Regions from separate parts of the Homo sapiens genome. Here region 2 is linked to region 1. The links are contacts of gene promoters, found by promoter capture Hi-C in human tissues and cell types (Jung and others, 2019). All regions are on one chromosome and are shown on one strand. The core of a region is centred on a gene start or on the middle of the fragment in contact, and the rest is flanking DNA. Distances in the headings are between cores, read along the strand shown.

The links. The method cuts DNA at HindIII sites, captures the fragments that hold promoters and counts their contacts. A contact is called where the count stands out against the background at its distance.
Region 2: a contact is called between a fragment that was not itself captured here and the fragment with the promoter of AVEN in region 1, in 2 of the 25 tissues and cell types used here (lymphoblastoid cells and spleen).

The regions. Positions count from the first base shown.
Region 1 is chr15:34,034,842-34,041,300 of GRCh38, reverse strand. It overlaps AVEN (apoptosis and caspase activation inhibitor), which reads left to right and starts at 2,097. Exons shown (of 6, transcript NM_020371.3): 1 at 2,097-2,521. The coding sequence starts at 2,255. All of the region lies in intron 1 of CHRM5 (cholinergic receptor muscarinic 5), which reads right to left. RefSeq lists silencers at 2,005-2,174, 2,355-2,564, 2,655-2,714, 3,065-3,124. The HindIII fragment of the contact is 11,161 bases long and covers 1-4,492 here.
Region 2 is chr15:34,575,623-34,582,336 of GRCh38, reverse strand. The region is part of intron 1 of GOLGA8B (golgin A8 family member B); the gene reads left to right. Among named protein-coding and RNA genes, the nearest start is that of GOLGA8B, 4.7 kb to the left of the region's middle. The HindIII fragment of the contact is 3,792 bases long and covers 3,398-6,714 here.

The sequences.
Region 1 (6,459 bases), core at 848-3,347:
CACCAATCTATCTGTGCTAGTGGTTCTCATCCAGGGTGATTGCCTCTCAGGGAACATTTGGCAATGTCTGGAGATGTTTTTGGTTGTCTTAATGAGGGGGAGAGGGGTTCATTCTGGCATCTAGTGGGTAGAGGCCAGGGATGCTATTAAATATTCTACAATGCACAGGATAAGCTACCGCCACAAAATGTTACCCAGCCCTAAATTTGCCAACATTGAGAAACTCCGATTTGTGCAAATGTCTAGTTTGAGATTAATGTGTGGATCTTCAACTTGGTGAGAGGCCAGACCAGTGATATGCTGGTAGATATTTAACCATATTCTTCCATGCCCCTTCCCCACTGCTATGGTCTAAATGTTCATCTCCCTCAAAATTCATGTTGAAATCTTTTTTTTTTTTTTAGACAGTCTCCTTCTGTTGCCCATGTACAATCACAGCTCACTACAGCCTCAACCTCCTGGGCTCAAATGATTCTCTATCTTAGCCTCCCAAGTAGTGGGACTATAGGCATATACCACCATGCCCAGCTAATTTTTGTAGAAATGGGGTTTCACCATGTTGCCCAGGCTGATCTTGAACTCATGTCTCAGGCAATCCACCCGCCACAGCCTCCCAAAATGCTGGGATTACAGGCACGAACCACACACCTGGCCTGTAACTGTGTAATCTTGGAAGTTACTTAACATCTGTTTTAGATTCCTGATCTGTAAAATGGAGACAACACTAGCTTACCTCGTAGGCCAGCTATTAGTCCCAAATGAAGTGATATGAGAAGTATGTAGAATAGTGTTTGGTGCATATAAGTGCTCTACAAGTGTTACTATTTTTAAGACTGTTTCTCTGGAGTTGACAATCCTTCAATAGTTCCCCCTGTCTGGAAGGCGCCCCTACTCCCATTTACCAACCAGGCAAACTCCTACTCAACCATTAGGCTTTAGCTCAGGGGTCTATTTCTCATGAAGCCTTGGGTAACCCGTTTAAATATAATTTAACTTTTCTTCTTTGGACCTTGATCTTGAATCTCTCACTGCACTCAGCAACACGGTACTGTAATCATCTATTCACACGACTAGATTATCTTCCTTGTGGGCAGTGAGCTACTTGAGGGCAGGGGCAAGGTTTTTTTTTTGTTTTTGTTTTTAATTTCAGGACATAGCACTGTGCCTGATGCAGAGTAGGCAATTAGAAGCAATGAAAAGTATTAACTATGTATGGATATAGGAAAGAACCAGAAAGTACTGAGGGGGAAGAAAACACTTATTCTGCTAGGCTGACATTTTAGCCCTTGCTTTCATTATTTTCAGGTGGTTTCAGTCCCAAGTTAAAAACTGCTTTCATGCATCTGTGTAACCAACTGTTCCCCTTCCTGTTTTCTCCTTGGTTGAAAGAAGGGACTGGAGTGAGACCGCCTTAGAATGCCAGTTCCACCACTACCTAGTTATTCACTTTAGTCAAGTTTTTTTTAACCTTTCCAAGGCTGTTACCTCACTGCAGAATAAGGATGACAGTCATCCCTACCTCATAGAGCTGTTATGAGAATGAAATACTCATGTGCTCAATAAATGTCAGCTGTAGTAGTCATTTCTACAGAAATTCTGCTGAGGACTTTGACGCCCTTTCTAGCCATCTCCCAGTTTCGCACTGTTCTCTCTCCCACGTGCTGCAGTCCACCTCTCACCAGACACAAACTCTTGTCTTTACATCCACACCTCCTGAACCCTGACTTCGGTATAGTTTTAAAATGATACACATTCGTTGCTGAAAATTAGATTAAACGGAGGAAAAAAAATTAACTCACTTCAAATCTCAGCAGTTAACCACTAACATTTTAGTATGTATTTGTTTAGACCTTTTCTTATGCAAATACATACGTTTAAACTTTTTTTTTCCGAGAGTTCACATCATACAAATTTTATTTTATGACTCGTCCTTGCACTTAGCACGGTCTCTCCCCCAACCTATCTCTGATGCCTTGAGAATCCCCCCGCCCCGCTGCAGACCCCCACCACTTCCAGCTCCCAGCGGTCCGGCCTTCCCGCGGTCCCGGTTCCGGCCCCACCTGCGGGACGCCGGCCGCCCCGCCCCGCCCCGCTCCGCTGCGGCCGGCCTCGATCCCTAGCCCCGCACCCCGCGCCTCGCTGCTACCGGGCGCCTTTCGCTCGCGGCTCCTCCGTGCGGCCCGCTTCCGGTGGGGCCAGGGCGTCTCCGCCGCAGCTCGGCTCCCGCGCGCTCAGCACCGCCAGCGGCGGCCAGATGCAGGCGGAGCGAGGAGCTCGGGGAGGCCGTGGGCGGCGGCCAGGCCGCGGCCGGCCTGGCGGAGATCGCCACAGCGAGCGGCCCGGAGCCGCAGCGGCGGTAGCCAGAGGCGGCGGCGGAGGCGGCGGCGGGGACGGAGGCGGACGCCGGGGCCGTGGCCGTGGCCGGGGCTTCCGCGGCGCTCGCGGAGGCCGAGGAGGAGGAGGCGCCCCGCGAGGCAGCCGCCGGGAGCCGGGAGGCTGGGGCGCAGGGGCCAGCGCGCCGGTAAGAGGCGACGGCTGGTGGGGCTGGGACCGCGTGTAACTGGGGCAAGTGGGGCCGAGGCCGCCAGTCAAGAGCCGCAAGAGAGCGTGCCAGGCGCGCGCCAGACGGGCGGCGGCGCCGGCGCCTGCGCGGGACGGGCGGATGGTGGCGCGGGGGCGCGCCTGGTGGCGGGGGCGCGCCTGGGTATGCGCTTGGCCCTCGTGGCCTCCTGGCCGGGCTGGCGCGAGACAGTGGGGGTAGGAGGGCTTCCCAGCCTGCCCCAGGGTCCGGGTTAGGAACCCAGAGGCCAAGGCCGTGTGTCAGGGCTGCAAGTCTCGGCGGCCCGTGGGCCGGCTGGGCTGTCTGTACGAGTACCACTATGGGACGGAGGCGCGGCCACGACGTGGTCCCTCGGCAGCCTTTACGGGCACGCTCCTGTTATTAGGAGGGAAAGGATTTTTTGGTCTGTTTTGTTAACTGTCTGTGCAATGCCTAGTACACAGTAGGCGCATAATAAAAAGTTTGTTGAGTGAAAGAATGACCCCTACGACTGGACTCTAGTATTTGGGGGCGGGACCAGATGCATAGTTCTTTGTAATAGCGTAGTTCTCTTTTATTATGCCTGTATGTGTAGAAATCAGCGAGCACTGGGCTTTGTCGTTTTGAATTTTCAATTTATAAATGAGCAGTCAAGTTCTGAGTTTTAATAGCAATATCATCAGTCTTATTGACACATTCATAGAAGGAAGTTTTTGGAGATTGGAGCAGGGGATGATATATATGGGGGCAAAGCTAACCATATCTCAGCTAAAGGAGTTAGAGGACTGTCTTTTTATGAGTTGTTCTGTTACCTTAACATCTGTAGGACAAGACCATCTTTATATTCTGCATTCTTATGCACACTGATTTAAAAAATTCTTTTTTGCATGAGGCAAAATTTGCTCTTACTGAAGTATTTACAATATCTTGAGGGCATAGCAGATAAGATATCCCTAAAGAGAGTAGTTGTATACAGCAATACAGAGCTGGAAAAAAAAGTATAAAACTTAAATTTAAATGTAACAAACTTAAATCTTGTTAGGATTAAGATAGGTAATAGGCAAAACTTGAATGAGATATAAAAACATTTTTAGGGTCAGTTTACCTCGTGTAAACTGACAGAAACTAAGGTAAATGACAGAAACTAAGACCAACCTAGTGCCCACTATATATCACATTTTGTTCTTATAACTCTATTATATATATATAATATATATGTAATGTAGAATTATGTAATATAATAGTATGTAATTATATATTAACTACAATGTTATATATTATTTATATATCCATATATAGAGAGTAATCTTTATTTTTACAGGTTAACTGACTTGCCTAAGCTTTCACAGCTAGTGGCAGAGCTGGGATTTATATCAAGCTGCCCTTGAGTCAACAGTATTTTATCTCTTACTTTTTCGTGAACCAGTTACCACTTTATTGAGAACAAAGTAGATATTCCTTAGCTGCAGGGATCGTGCTTTAAGAGTAATTGTAGTAATGGTACATTTGGTGTTAACTATGGTGTCTGGCGCACAGGACTTTACTAATAAGTGTCTTTAAGTTGAATTGAGTGAGTGAAGGTGCTTCTGTTTTGTTAATCTCTGTTGAATTAAATTGGGTGAAATGATGGTATATATTTTTTTTTTTTTTTTGAGACGGAGTTTTACTCTTGTTGCCCAGGCTGGAGTGCAATGGCATGATCTTGGCTTGCTGCAACCTCCGCCTCCCGGGTTCAAGTGATTCTCCTGCCTCAGCCTCCCAAGTAGCTGGGATTACAGGCATGAGCCACCTTGCCCGGCTAATTTTGTATTTTTAATAGAGATGGGGTTTCACCATGTTGGTCAGGCTGGTCTCGAACTCCTGACCTCAGGTGATCCACCCGCCTCGGCCTCCCAAGGTGCTGGGATATGGATTACAGGTGTGACCCACTGCGCCTGGTCATGATGGTATATCATTAAAAGAAAGAATAATACAAGACTTTAAAAAATTTAAGATAGTATTGTAACACATTCTGTTAAAATTTTAGGCTTTTTCTTTTGTCGAGTTGGTCTTATCCCTTCATCATCATGTTTTCAGCCAAAGCTGGAGGGAGGGATGTTGGGCAGATTGTTCCTTAATTTTGGTTTGGATTGGTCATCTCTAAGTTCCTTCCATTTCTCAGATTCTGAAGTACTGTTTGTATTTAGTCTTGCTAGGACACCATTTTTGGTGCTTAACCATTACATGAGACAAGATTGATTGACTTTCCTGAAGCCTTCTTGTTCTCATATCCCATGGTGCATTTGTGCCCCAAGGAGAGAGTAACCGAAATGATCAAAGGAAAAAAAAATCATAATAGACTCCTAGCCATGTAAAGACCAGTTGTCCACCTTCAGAAACCAATTTTGTGTACACCTTTGCTTTCTATTTTGGACCACTGCATACAAATGGAAAACAAAATCAATCTAACCAACTTCTACATAGCTATGTAATACTCCAGGGTAACTTAGTTGAGTACTAAGTTGAGTACATCTCTTAGTCTCTTGCTCTTAAATCATTCCTTCTGTAAATGGTCTGAGCTCTAAGCTTACTGATTATGGGTGAGCATAATTATCTTCACGGAATACTCACTAGAAGCATTATTGTACTAGATACAATCATTAACTTTAAAAAAAAAACACAAAACTGGCTGGGTGTGGTGGCTCGCGCTTGTAATCCCAGCACTTTGGGAGGCTGAGGTGGGTGGGTCACTTGAGTCTGGGAGTTCGAGACCAGACTGGGCAACATAACGAGACCCCCTCTCTATAAAAAAAATACAAAACTGCCGAGCATGGCGGGGTGCATCTGTAGTCCCTGCTACAAGGGAGGCTGAAGCAGCCGGATTGTTTTGAGCCCCGGAGGTGGAGGCTGCAGTGAGCTGTGATCCTGCCACTGCACTCCAGCCTGGGCAATAGAGTGAGACTCTGTCTCAAATAACTAACTTACTAACTAAATGAATAAATAATCCCCCTATCACTGCCCCCAATACTAGGATTGTTTAGTATTTATCTTTGTGATGGGCTGTTAGCAGAGAGGAAGACAAGGCCAGCTGGTAGTCTTTGGAATTTTTTTTCTTTTTTCCTTCCTCTAGTAATAACAGTAATTCACATTTGTCGAGTACTTAATATAAGATGAGACAGCTGAGGCACCGTTAAATAACTCACAGTTAGGAGAGGTGAAATAACTTTTTAATATCACTCAACCAGAAAATTGCTGAGCCTGGATTCCACCCCAGCATTTTCACTCCAGAGCCTGTTCTTTCGACTGCTGCTCTAAACTGCTCCTGGAATGACTTTGAGATTTGAAAAAGGGGTGTGTGGAGGACTGTTGAGTGATTCTTTCACATGCCTGATTATTTTTTTAACTGATATGTTAGTATGGTTATAAGGTTTTAAGGTAACATTGGTACCATCTTCAGTTATTGTGGGTGTTACCAGACCTTTGCTTTCTTGCTCCATGTTTATATTGCAGCTTTTCATATTCCTTTTAAAATGATTTATATTCAATAAAAGATGAGACAGCTGTTTATAGTTGTACTAAAAAGTAGAATCTGGAGGCATTTAATTCTGATCAAACTTTTGCTTTGTAAACAAAGCCTGAGTAGTAATTAATACCCGATGGCGTTGACATTTTCATTTCACTGGGTAAAAAGGAAATCTCTAATTTTCTATTCAAGTTTAGTGTGAACCTGGAGGGAAGAAATGGTGTCAGATCAGTTACAGGCAGGTGTCTAAGGACTTGCTCCTTCATTGTTGCTCAGAGTAGCCACCAGCCGCTTGTCAGCCAGCTAGAGACTGAGAGCCTGTTAAAAGCTCAAACTGAAATGACAGCCTCTAGACTTTATTTTCCTTTTTTTCCAGAAAGCCTGAAGCAAATTTGGTTAGAAACTGAATGTGCTTAAG
Region 2 (6,714 bases), core at 4,044-6,543, 540 kb before region 1:
GCTTTGCAGGTTGAAGTGGGACAAGTTTTCCTAAGGTTCAGGTTGGCAGTTGCCAGGAGCCTGCAGGTGGCTTTTTCTCAGGCCTCTGGGTCAGGGTCCCTCCAGTGAGGTGAGGCAGGGGTTTCTCCCCTCCCAGAGGTGTGGCCACTACGCAGGGGGACAGGAACTGGGTTTCCCAGTCCGGGGAGTCCAGGATGCCCTGCACTCTGCGCTGATTCCTGGGTGACCGTGGGGGCTGCCTCCCCCTTCAGCCTGGGCTGGAGAGGGTCTCCTGAGCTTAGGAACTGCGGGGCAGGAGGGCTGGGGTGTTAAGGACACGTGGAACTTGCTGGGGCTCCGGGCAGTGTCCAGGGCGTGAGCAGATAAAGCTGGACCTTGCAGCTGTGTGCCGGCAGCCCTCGGTGGGCTCTAGCAGTACTGTTGGGGGGCCCTTGGAGTGGGCTCCCTGGCTGGGCTGGGACTGGGTGATGGCAGTAGCAATGGGGCACCAAGTCTTCCCTCTCATTTGTTAGGAAGTGCGGTCTGTGCCCGTCCCCACTGTCTGGCTCTTGGGCTGGGAGAAGCTGCAGGCTGAGTCCCACGGAGTGTGAGTGTGTGTGAGCAGGAGTGGGTGCTGGAAGGAGGTAAAGCTGGTGACCGTCAGCTCCTCATTCTCTTCCACCTTGCATGTTTTCTCTGACACCCCAGACCCAAGTTGTGGCCTGCTGGTTAACTTGTTTACATAACCTTCTTAAGTAGCTCTAACCTTTAAAAAAAAAAAAATCAAAATGTTAGTTTCACAGGAATAATTGGTGGGGATGGATTGTGAAATGGAGCTGCATAAATATCCAGTTTGCCAACTGAGCTAAGAAATGCTGGATAAAAGTAAAAGGTAATTGTAAAAGACACTGATCACACCCCTGGAAGCTTAGAGATGGGATAAGACACCTTGATTTTTCCCAGACAAAACTGAGGAAGTCAGAGGAAAAACAGTTGATAGTGAGGTTGGCATAAGGCTGGGCTTTGTTTGGATTGGGCCGCGGTGGCTGCAGTGAGGGCTGTTGGAGTGGGGAGAGTGGGGGTTGAACCTGGCTGAAGAGGCCCCCTCCAGGCCTCAGCTCCTCTCCGGCACTCCTCGCTGTCCTCTGCCACGCATACCTGCCCCAGTGACTTAACAGGTGTGGGCCTCAGGTGACACCATGGTCTGAAGTCTTGGAGAAACCTTTACTGTCCAGGGGAGGACAGGACTGGCGGTCGGTGGGGATCGAGGCCCTGCACACATCACTGGGTGGCTTCAATGTCTTCGGCAGAGATCACATGCCCTGCGTTTCAGCCTGGTCCTTAGAGAAACGGAGAGAGCTCTGGGCCTGGGTGGCGGCCCTGGCTGTACCACTCACAGGCTGTGTGTCCTCAACCCAGTCTCAGTTCCTCACCCTTGCCAGGTGGCCGTGAGGACTAGGAACATGGAGACACAGGTAGGGTGTAAGGTAGCCACTGATGACCAGGCAGGCCTCTGCAGTGTAGGTCAAGTTTGAGATGGTTGCTCACCAGGAGGCAGCCTGTGTGCCTGGCAGGGGCTGGGGGTGCTCAATGTTCCCTTGGATGGTGGTTGGCCTGAGCGCCCACAGAGAGGCTTCTCCGGCTCTTTCCTTTCCCAGAGTTCCTCCCCACCCCTCTGCTGCCCACCGCCTGGGTTGGGTCCAGCTCATGTCTCAGAGCAGCCTGCTGGCACAGGCTGAGTCAGCTGTCATGGGCACTGTCGCTTCTCGCCTCTCCTGAAGCCAATCCTCCCCTCTCTCCCTGTCCAGACACACAAGGGAGGCCCGGGAGTTAGGTGACCTCAAGGTCGTGCAGCCAGGCTCTCTCTGGAACCCTGCGTACTGGTGGGGTGCCATTGCTGTGTGCTTTATGATTTCTGTGCCGGCTGTGAGGTTTCCCAGGTTGGGCTGTGCAAGTTGGCCCAGGCCCAATGGTGACACACCATTGCCCAGGCCTTCAGTGGCTTTCCAGTGCTCCCTCCACATCCATGTGTCTCGGCCTGATTTTTCTCAAATTCTCCCACTCGCTCCCAAGAATGGTCCCTCCAGGCTCTCCTGGCTCCAGGCAGACAGGCTCATTGCCCAGATCTGCCCTGGGTTGTCCCCACCCCATCCCCACCTGTCATCTTGGCCCATGTCCATCCCGGAGATCCTAACTGAATGTAGGCTCTTTCGTCTTATCCCTTGGTCCTCGGATTTGCCAGGCCACTCTTGCCTCCAGGCCTTTGCACCTGCTGTTCCCACCCCCTTGGCATCAGCCACCCCCAGATGCCCACCTGGCCAGCCCCTCACCTATTGCCGGCTCCCTGATGGCCCTGCATAAATTAGCGTTACTTCCCCTTCTCTTGTTAACCTTGCTTTGTGTTTCTCCTTAGTACTCAACATTCAGTGTGTTATTTATGTACTTGTTTGTTTATTGTCAGTCTCTTATCACTCAAATGTAAAAGACTTTGTTCACCTCTGGATCCCCAGTAGCTAGAAAAGTGCCTGGCACACAGCAGAGCCTTAGTGCTGTTGTTGGATGAGTGAGTGAATGAAACACGGGAGCAGTAGTCTCCTTGCAGCACATGTCCTGCTCCCTGTGCCTCCTTTTCCCGAGTCCCAGAGCTGGAACCCAGCTGTGTTCACCTTTGGATCCTCCTAGAATGTAGCACAGACCCTTACTCAGTGGGCAGTCAGGAAAGAGCTGCAGAGTTGTACTGTGCAACGTCAGTTTCACATAGGCCAGAGGAGAACGTGTTTGGGAAGGTAACCAGCCCAAAGAATGAGCTTTCTTATTGTGCACTGAGATTCCTTTTTGGATTTTCAGTTGTTTGGGTTCTCTGCACCCAGGTGGTCCCTGCTGCCAAAGTCAGCGCTGCGTCTCCCTGCAGTCACCTCGGATGTGGATGCACTTTGGAAGGAGGCACCCCCACGCCCAGATTCCCTTCCCACTCCATCTGGATCTTTCCAAACTTGTCTTGTACCTAATGTCAGACTCTGTTCCAGGGCTCTCAGCCACTCTGCTTTCCCTTCCAGAAGCCTCCTCCTGCTTGACTCTCTCCTGCGTGTGTCCTGGCCTGGTTGGAGAAGATGCTTTGGTTTTATGAGAAAGGGACTGGGAGGTCAGAAAAGAGGATGGGATTTGGAGTAACAGGAGCTCAGTTCCAGCCTGGCCCTGCCACTAAACCCTGGGGTCCAGGGCCAGTCTTCTGGCTTGAGAGTCTTTCTCAGCATCTGCAATGTGCGCATGAGGCCTCTTGCCTGTGGTTGTTTTGAGGCACAGACGAGATGCGATATTGAACTGATGCGAGATATTTTATGATAGCAAGGACTCCATGGTGTGGCTTCTCTTATTGTCCTGGGAGTTTTAAGGGTCAGGTTTGTGAGTTACAGCTACGGCCTAGTGAGAGAATGCAGAGGAGGCCTGTCATAAACTCTAAAGGGCTGTTTTAATGTAAGGTGGTGCATCTGTTGTTTTGTGTTTCAAGGATCAAAATTAAGAGAAAAAAATATGTGGTTGAGATACCTGCGTTGAGTGACTGTGGAAATATTTTCATCTCTAGTTGTCTGGAAACGGAAACACTCCAACATTTAAAGATGGTTTTCATGGCGAAACCACTGGAATGAAACACGCATCATCGGGCAATTCTGTGTGTTGAGTTCCATCCCTCTTTGTTTGTCATTTTAAATAATTTCCCTACAAATCCAGAAGGCAGGTCTTGTCTTAACTTCGCGACGAGGAGGCTGGGGACAGGTAGCTGAGCTATGGGTTGCCTAAGAGCACTCTGCTGTGACGGGGCAGTGCTGGCCTTTGAGCCTGAGCTGGAGAGAGTGTGAGGCCCATGTTTTCTCTCTGTCTCCTGCTGGGGCCCATTTTGTATCAGATTTGTTTTTAACGGGGTGGGCATGACTAGGACTTATGACCATTGGTGGGCAAGTACAGGGGCTAATTTTCAACACGTGCTGAGAGACTGATGGCTGGCATCGGAGAGTTATGGAAATGCCACAGATGACGTGAGCTCTTCACAGCGATGGGGAAAGGGCGTGGGAGCTTGCCCTCCAGGAAGGTGGCTAACATGGTTGGTGGGACACTAAGGTGTTTTCCATTTTGCACTTGAAGCCAACATGGATTCTTAGCACTTCTTGTCCCTAGAATCAACTGTGCAGAGAGACGCTTGGTTGTGAAACTCTCAGGCAAAGACAGTTCTGAGGAAACTTACTAGTAAATAGTGAGTCAGAGAACACTACTGACATTTAGGATTTTCAGTTGAGATACATATGTACTGTCATGCATCACATGACATTGTTTTTGTGAGTGATAGCGTATATGACAGAGGTCCCATAAGAATATCATGGGGCTCAAAAATTCCTATTGCCTAGTGACATTGTCGTAAAGTTGTAGTGCAGTTACTTTATTTTTTAAAAAAATGTAGCCTAACTGTACAATGTTTATAAAGTCTGCACTAGTGTACAGACTGACTCACCGGAGCAACTTCCATTCATGGAAGGTCCATTCATAGAAAGTGCCCTAGACAGGGGCACCATGTTTTATCTTTTATAGCATATTTTAACTTTGTGCCTTTTCTATGTTTAGATACACACCTTCAGCACAGTAACATGCTGCCTAGGTTTGCAGCCTAGGAGCAGTAGGCTGTACCCTATAACCTAGTGTGTTGTAGTAGGTTTGTATAATGTATGCTCTATGATGTTCTCATAATGATGAAATTGCCTAATGATAAATTTCTCAGAATACATCCCTGTCATTAAGTGACGCATCTGTGTGTGTGTGTGTGTGTGTGTGTGTGTGTGTGTGTGTGTGTGTGTGTGTGTATGATATATAATTTTTTTCATTTGGTTGGTTTGGCATTCCTGGAATTGATTCTCCAGCAAGGCAGCTCTAAATATGGATTCCTCTGAACTGTTGTATGTGTTCTTAATTTAATAAACAAGTATCGTTTATGGTTTCCCGCAGTTGGTTTGATTATCAGCTGTCTTGGAAAAATCTATTGTTTCAAAAATAGTAAAGCCACTAGTTGAGTAACCGCATGCATTTAGGGATGATGGATTTCTCAGGTCTCTCTGGAAGCAAGTGTGTGCATTGTGCAATTAAAACACAGTTTCTGTTTCTCAGTCTTTTGGTGTAATAAGTGAGCCATGTGCTCTAGCATCTGTCTGAATTATCCGGAGCTGGTGGCAGCTGTCACGGGTGTGGTGCAGTGGGGCCAGGCATGTGTTAGGAACTGGAAGCTCTGGGAAGCCAGGCTCTGCCTGCACGTGTGAGCCAGCTGTAGAGCGTCACTGCTCAGAGTTTGTCTTGACTCATCCCAAGAAGGGCACGTGGAGGTCTGTGTCCCATTCCTCACCAGCCACTGAGTTATTATGGATGGAGGAGATGAGATGTGTGCAACTGTTCTGCTACAGGAAAGCAGTCAGTCAGTGCAGTCACCAGGGTTAGGATGTGTGAGTGTTTTACCAACCTGCCTGCTGGGTTTCAGACACTTGGCACTACCTCCAGCCTCTAACTGATTCTGGCTGGTACGCGTGAAAGCTGTCAGCTGAGTGATGAATGGACCGATTTTGGCCACAGGTCCCTGCACTTCCCACCTGGCCTGACTGCTAGATTCTGAGCCCCTGAGGCAGGACTGAATGGGTCACATTGATGGTTGATTCTCTCGGGAATGGCATTGGGTGAAATCGAGGTTTTCCTGACCCACAGCTCCTACTAGAAGTGCCTTTCTTTTGTGCATGTATTGTGAAGATTCTGCCTGTGAACTTTCTCTACCCTTTGAGTCCTAAGGTTCAGGTACCTGGAGAGGAGCATGTCATCGTTTTGCAGGTGGGATGTGTGGTTGTTGGGGAAGACGTCTTTGTGCTGTGTTGGGTTGGAAGCTTTGAGAGCAGAAGCCCCTCCAGACCAAGAACTCCTGATTGTGTCTTTCCCTTGGGCTTTCGCAGTTTTCAGCTTCTAAATTAATTGCATTTTATTAAGTAATGGTTTTCTTCTTGATCACAGGCGTGCCTGTGCTTAATCAGCACTGAGGACTGGTGCTACTTCAGTTGATTTGATACACCTAGAGGCAGCCTCATCTCCAACTTGTCTTGACTTCATTTGGGGAGCTGCCGTGGGGGACCCCTGGACTGGCAGCATTCCCACCCCTCACTTTGGCAACCCTGGCCTAACTCCTTGTATGTGTTGCTCCTTTTATCCATCACATAGGGTGGCTTAATCTAATAGTGGAAACAAAGGGGTGCGGGACGCTAACCTGGTAGGTCTCACCTTGCCCGTCCCGTCATTCACCTCTCAGTCCTTTGACACTCAGGGACTCTGCAGTGGTACAACCGGGAGCAGGTACCCTTCACTTTTCTTACCCCCGAGTCCCTTTGCCTGGAGCACTGTCCATCTATCCACCCATGCACTCAGTAGGTATTTTCCAAGCAGCTACTATATTCCAGCTTTCTTGTTCCCAGTTTAGAGCTGGGTGGGATCAGGAGGGAGGGCATGGAAGGGGTTGCTGGAGAATGTGCAATGGCATCAGAGCCCCATTCTGGCTCTGGGTCCAAGGCCCTCCTAGAGAGGCACAATCTGGAAGATGTGAGAGCCCCACGGTAGGTTGGGGTGGATCATGGACCCCATCCTAGAAGAGTGGGTGGGTTTGCCCCTTCAGAGCCCAGGCCAGAAGAGCCCTCTCGGCAGAAGGGCCAGCCTGGAGTGTGG